Regions from separate parts of the Homo sapiens genome. Here region 1 is linked to region 2. Evidence: promoter capture Hi-C in 16 types of primary human blood cells and fetal thymus (Javierre and others, 2016). All regions are on one chromosome and are shown on one strand. Each heading gives the region's core, a stretch centred on a gene start or on the middle of the fragment in contact. The rest is flanking DNA. Distances are from core to core; before and after follow the strand shown. Region 1 has its middle 110 kb from the start of SLC8A1. Region 2 holds the start of THUMPD2 (THUMP domain 2 tRNA and snRNA guanosine methyltransferase).

The links. Contacts are between HindIII fragments. The CHiCAGO score rates a contact against its expected background, and 5 or more counts as called.
Region 1: a contact is called between a fragment that was not itself captured here and the fragment with the promoter of THUMPD2 in region 2, in 1 of 17 cell types (neutrophils). The highest score is 7.0, in neutrophils.

The regions. Positions count from the first base shown.
Region 1 is chr2:40,562,579-40,566,109 of GRCh38, forward strand. No RefSeq gene overlaps it. Among named protein-coding and RNA genes, the nearest start is that of SLC8A1, 110 kb to the left of the region's middle. The HindIII fragment of the contact is 5,514 bases long and covers 1-3,531 here.
Region 2 is chr2:39,777,414-39,780,885 of GRCh38, forward strand. It overlaps THUMPD2 (THUMP domain 2 tRNA and snRNA guanosine methyltransferase), which reads right to left and starts at 1,845. Exons shown (of 10, transcript NM_025264.5): 1 at 1,701-1,845. The coding sequence starts at 1,826. The HindIII fragment of the contact is 5,327 bases long and covers 1-3,472 here.

The DNA of each region.
Region 1 (3,531 bases), core at 995-3,494, 790 kb after region 2:
AATGTCCTGAATAACATTTTAGGTTGAAAGAATACTATGAATAAGGACGGGGTAATAAGAATGTGGATGACAGGTTTGGAAGGCTGTTTCGGTTAGTAATCTTGGAGCAGAGGATTCAAGTACATAGATATAGGGGAAGAGAGCAGGGTATTGGAACATTGGAAAGAGGCAGTGTCCGGCTGTTGAAGGTGGACATTGAACTTTATTCTATAGATAGTGCCGAACCTCTAAGGGCTTTACAGAAGCAATTCCAGTCCAATGCTTGCCTGATCATTTTAGACACAACATAGGACTTGCTGTCCTGTGCCTAAAATTGGTTTATGTGAAGCAGTTTTCAGAAATACTAATCTGGCAATATTTTTCAGATTTCTTTGGAAAGGGAAGAAAAACTCAGTGAGAAAAGGATTCAATAATACAAGCATAATAGATACTAACCAAAAATAGCACAGCGAAGTAGAAAAGATAAAAATTCTAAACTGTGATTTTAAATTTTCAATTCAAGACAAAACAGATAGCTACCTCATGAGCTTTGTCAGCTATTTTTAAAGGTAGCATCCTTCTTTTCTTTCTTCCAGTTTCCTGTTTATATTCTGACCTGAGAGTCTGATAGAGAATGTATTTTGGGATTTTTCTCTCTGCCTTTAATCTTTATTACAAAGCACTGTCCCAGTGATGTTTGTGATGCCCGTAAAACTCTTAGCCAAACCAAGGACAAAGAATCTGACTCAGATAATGAAAAATAGACCTGTCTATCTGAATGTGACAAAGTATTCCATTTTTGGTGGTCTTTGAACCTATTGGGAAACCCATATTATAATTTATTTCCAAAAGATTGGAAGTTCAAGAGTTCTAAAGTCAGACTACCTTCGCTCAATGTCAGATTTACCCTATTTTATTCTAACACCGGAATGATAAAAATACATTATGAACATTGTATGAGACAGCATATTCTTCATGTGGTGAGATGCACATATTGAGTACTCAATAACTTTCAGGAATTACTAACTCTCAGAAATTTATTTTTGTTTACTTTTATATAGTTATTTTGCTTTGTATATAAATGCAGCTACAGTTCATGATGATTATATAATTATTGATGACCATATTCAGTTTTGATTTATAAATTATTTTTTAATTTTTTTTATTAAACTTTAAGTTCTAGGGTACATGTGCACAATGTGCAGGTTTGTTACGTACGCATATATGTGCCATGTTGGTGTGCTGCATCCATTAACTCGTCATTTACATGAGGTATATCTCCTAATGCTATCCCTCCCCCGCTAGGGACATGGATGAAGCTGGAAACCATCACTCTCAGCAAACTATCGCAAGGACAAAAAACCAAACACCGCATGTTCTCACTCATAGGTGGGAACTGAACAATGAGAACACTTGGACACAGAAAGGGGAATATAAATTATTTTTAAGTAGATGTTTTAGTTTCTGCAGTATCATAACTTCTCAATACCACTTTATGTTGATGTAATGTTCATAGACTAGGTGTTGATATTCATGCAGATTAACCAGAGGATATAGAGGAATACTATTTGATTCCATTTAGGAAGCATTCATTGAAAACTATGTACTACGTTAAGTATATATGTCATGGTCCCTGACTTCAAGGGGCTTGTAGGTAAGTAAACAGACACACATGTACATAATAATTACAGTATAGTGCACAAGTTCACAGTAAGTGTAGACATAAGGCTAGGATTAGCACAATTAACTGTCTTAGGGAACGGAGATGACTTTGCAAAGGAAGCGACATATGAACTATGCTTTTTAGCTATTCATCTATTGCATGTCATGGTCATCAATTTGTGCAATAGGGTATAATGGGGTGAAAGTTAAAGAGGAAGAACAATTGTAAAACATGATTCAGAACACTATTTGCAAAGTACTGAAGCATAAATACCTTGTCAAGGCAATAAGCAGAATATGACTTCAAGTTGAGGAGCAAAACATACACCAGTGCTGTCCAATAGAAATAAAATGCTATCCACATATGAAACTTTAAATTTCCTAGTAGCTTTGTTTAAAAAAAGCAAAAAAAAATTAAATTAATTTTTATATTTTATTTAACTCAATGTATCTAAACTATTACCATTTCAACATGTAATTCATGTAAATAATATTTACAAGAATTTGTATCTTCTTTTTTCATATTAAGTTTCAAAAATTCAGTATGTATACTACATTTACAGCACATCTCAATTTTAAGTGCTCAGTAGCTACATAAGGTTAGTGGTCACTGTGTTAGACAGTACAGGGCAGATTCAGACCATGAAGAGCTTGAACATTCTATTAAGGAATTTAGACTATATCCTATCAAGTTTTGATAATATGTAAAGCGTATTCATCTGATGCATGTCAGCATTATATTTTCTCTTTAAGGCATTGAGGATGTTGATGGGTAGTAGAAATATTTAACCAAGAGACATAGGAATATTTGTATTCTGATGTTGAACAATCACCTCTCCTAAGGAGGTCTTTAAGGAAGAAAAGGAAGACAAAGTCATCCTTAATGACTAGATGGGATTTTTTACCCAATTCCCCTGGAGCATTCCAAGGAGCTACATTGGACCCCATGGAGAATGCCATTACCGAAGCCAAATCATTCTGAATGGTCTAGAAGCAAAGCAGCCTCAAGGGCCGGTTTAGATTTCCTTCCAAAGCTCAAACTTGGATCCCATTACTCTACAATGAGAAGAGGGATGAGAGCATAAAATAACAAGAGAAACTGAAGGAAAGATTGATGTCTAAGAGGGTTGGTATTGGGGAGGGGGAGTGGGCAATTTTATTGTTAGGTTCCTAGGCTTTTGGTAGAAAACTTCTTAAATAAAAAATATTAATATCTTAAGTGAAAAAGATACCAGAGACCCTCCAATATCTTACCACTTAACCCCTATGACTCAGGACACTCAACTTTTTGTTCCTACTGTTTTAAAGAACTACACCTTATATTTGTTAGCTTGGTACCTGGAACAGTGGCTTCAAGCACAGGCAATAATGACCACCAACTCTTGTAAAATCAGAATACTGCCTTCTCTCACATAGATGGAATGATCTGACCCATTCTTGGGAATAAGTAATGAGACCCACATAAAAGATGTTTAAACTTCAACCTAGAGGACAGTGTAAGTTTCCAGATACTTTTCTAAATTTTCAAAGAACTGGAGAGTATTTATTGGTTTCCATGGATGAGAGAAGCATTTTTTAAAAATTTTGCTTTACAAATTATGTAAATTTTTACAAATTGTACAAATTCTCTTTTGCACGTGGTAGTTCTAGTTCATGCCCTCCCTACCCCTGGCATCCTGTTTAATTTTGTATTTATCACATTTTAAAAAGCTAAAACTACATTGTTAGTACTGGTTACATTAAAATAAATCAGAATGGATTTATTCTTGCATTTTGTACTCCTAGCTTCTGTCATGGTCTTATCTACTAGCATGTTTGAGGTGCATATACAGTGAATAGAGTTCAAACTCTATAGGACTCTATAGAATATAATTCATTAAATCTTAAAGA
Region 2 (3,472 bases), core at 595-3,094:
TAAAGCACATGGGCTTTAAAGCTAGAGAGACTCAGAGACAAGTCCCAATTTTCTCTTTTTTTGGTAAAATATGGAGGTAAAAGTCTATCAGATAGGAGTCTTTTGAGGATTAAATCATAACATGCACATAACTTGTCTAACATTTTAAGTGTTTAATAAATGTTAGTTGTCATCACTGTTATTTCAGGATTGCCTTAACTTTGAGAGTTCACTTTGTATCAGAGCAACTTGGGTGGAATTTCAGAGATTATTTGTTCAGATCCCATTTCCAGACCTATCTATCTTTCAAACATACAAGAGCAGAATATGGAAATTCCCAAATCTACTGGCATTTAATTACTCCCACTGTCAAAAAGTTTTCCCTGTATTTAATTGAATTTTCTTCCTGGTAATAAAGTTTTCCCCATTTCATTTGTCTTTAGAGAAGATGGAGAACAAGCAGAGAGTCTTTCCTTTTTCTAATAATCCTACATATTAATTGGGCCAAGCTCTCTCTCTCTTTCATACCAAGCACTCTAAGTTAGCATTTAAAAAAACAAGCCAGCGCACCCCTATGTCATGGTCATATAGTGGGCCTGGTTTGAACATGATTATATACTCATTCTTGATTTCCCAGCTCGGGTTTGAATCCCATCTTTGCGATTTTCTAGTTGCATGACTTGAATAAATTCTCGGACTTACCTGTGCTTCATTTTTCTCATCTGTTAAATGTGGAACACCTACCTTATAGGGCTGTTGTGAAAAGTACGCAAATAAATATAGGGTAAAGATCTAAGAACATGTGCCTGACACATATTAAATGTTCAATAAATGTCAGTAGTTATTATATATTGATGCTTTTTAAGATTAGCTACATTCAATACTCTATTAAATTCTGTGACCCAAAACACAAGTGGCAGGTAGTCTAACAAAACTGACATAATTCTTCACGACTCCAACCTTTCACTGCAGAAACTCCTTTTGTGGGCTTCCCACACTGTAGGAGCTGCCAGGGTGGAGGGGTTAATTTCATTTAGGAAGCTCTCCTTTTCCAAGAGTACATCACTCACAGTGTCCCATACACCCCATCAAGATACCTTTTCTATTATACCTTCATCCCCTACTTTCAAGAAACCAGTTTTCAACATTCTAAAACCTAAACCGATGCTTAAAACCTTGTTCATTTCACAGAAATCAATAACAGATAACTATGAGGCCTGCAAGAGTATATTATTTTTCTGGCTGCTATTTACTGCGTGTTTAAAGTGTACTTTGCATACGCTATATAATTTAATTCTCACAACAATCCTATGTAGTCAAATACAATCACTGTCAAGAAACTAACAAAAAGTCAGGTAACTGAACTTGGAGATTATGTTTGCATTTAAAGAGCGAAGGGTTCTAACTCTGACAGGCCAGATTCTAATTACAGGCACTACTTACTACTTTAAAGAATCCAGGAAATAACTTGCCTCAACACCTCTCTTAAAAACTTGAGCCCTGAGAAGTGAGGAACTGGATTTGCTATACAAGGAAAGAAAGGAATGGTGGCTTCTCTCGGCCGGAGCGGAAGCGCCTGCCAGTCAACCTCGGGGGTCGGCGACCGTCGCGTGGAACAGAGAGGGGCGCCAGCGACGCTTTCCCGCGTCCACGACTGGGGTGGGCAACAGGGCAGGGACAGGGCCGCCCACCTCCCCAGGCGCGCAGCGAGGCCAACTCACCTGCGTGGCCGCCAGCCGCGCCCGCACCTCTCGCATTACGAACGGCTCCAGGCCGCGACCCGCAGTGCAGAAGAATCGGGCGCCAGCCTCAGGCCCGGACCCTGGCTCTCCACGCGCCTCCGACATGGCGGCTCAGGCGCGCCCTCGCGCCTTCGGGTCACGTGGCCTCGGGCGCGAGCGGCTCGCTCCTGGAGGCGGCGCGCAGGGGCGTGTGATGCCAAAGGGGAGAGGGAGAGGGAGAGGGAGAGGGGGAGGGGGAGAGGGAGGGGGAAGGAGAGGGTGAGAGAGACGGAGAGCCTGGGAGGGTCGCATCAGCCCTCTGTGGCCCCTATGGGTCTTCCTGGTTGACCATCTGTCCCCTCCTTGATTAGGCACCAGAATGGGTTAGAATCACAGGTGGAAGGGTTAGAATTGATAATTCAGTCCAGTTGCCTTATTTTGTAGATTGAGGAAATTAATGCCCAGAGAGGTCAAGAGACAGCGAGTTAGCAGCACAGCTGAGGCTGGAGCCTAGATTTCTCCCTATCTAACATAATGCCTTTTCCTCCATTCCTCCCAACTCCGTCCTCTTCCTGTCCTTCATTCCTCTCCTCTACTCTTCTCATAGAAGGAGCCCTGGTCTGTTTTCACAAAGAATCGGGCCAAACGTTGGAATCTCCAGGACGGAGAGCAGAAGTTCCTGTTCTCTAACAAACGTCTGCGTTCTGAAACAGCTCATATTTCTTGCACTACTTAGTTAACCATCCAGCCATAGATGAATCAATGTGCCATCTAGTTTTGGGCACCTGATTTGAATGGTTCTCCTAACGGTATTTGAAGGCATTTTTCTAAACTCTGAATTTTAAAATGGAAATGAAAATATTACTTGGGAAGCATAGACAGAATCCATGTTACAAGATAAACAGCGTGAAATTAGCTCTGTAGCTGTATATTGAGTCAGTTATACAGAAATGATAAATGCATGTGTGTCTCTGACAAGGGGCTGTCCTGTGCTTCAGAATGGGATGTTAAGGTGAAGAACTGATACTCCCTCACCTCCCCCGACACTCCCACACACACCCCCGCCCCCACCCAGCTCATGCTCTACTGGGCCGTACAGTAAAAATTCTTCATGGAGTCACATAACATGAGCTTTTCCAAGGTTCAGTCCTAAGACTCTTCTGATGCTGCTTTTTATTTTTTATTTTTTGCGACAGGGTCTCCCTCTGTCGCCCAGGCTGGAGCGCAGTGACGTGATCTTGGCTCACTGCAGCCTCCACCTCCTGAGCTCCAGTAATCCTCCCACCTCAGCCTGTCCAGTAGCTGGGACCACAGGCAAGCCCCACCACACCGGGCTAATTTTTGTATTTTTTGTAGAGAAGGGGTTTCACCATGTTGGCCAGGCTGGTCTCGAACTCCTGAGATCAAGCGATCCGCCTGCCTCGGCCTCCCAAAGTGCTGGGATTACAGGCACCCAGCCCTCACACACTACCGTTTTGATGAATTCTTTTCTTGCCCTCAGACACATGTTTTCCTTTTCTGGGCTACTGCCGTAGTTCATTTTAACTTCTCTATACTTTGGGGTTCTGACTGTCAAGTCTGTCTGGGGAGGACAGGAACCCTCTTTAGTTCTCTCTACATTCTGTGCCCAAGATGTTAAGTATGCAGATAGGATGCATTCCATTCAGTTCAACAAATACTGAACACCTATTCTCCGCCAGTCACCACCCTGTCTTGAGGATTCAAAGATGGGTAAGCAAGGGTTTGGACTTCAAGGGCTTAGAGGATGGTGA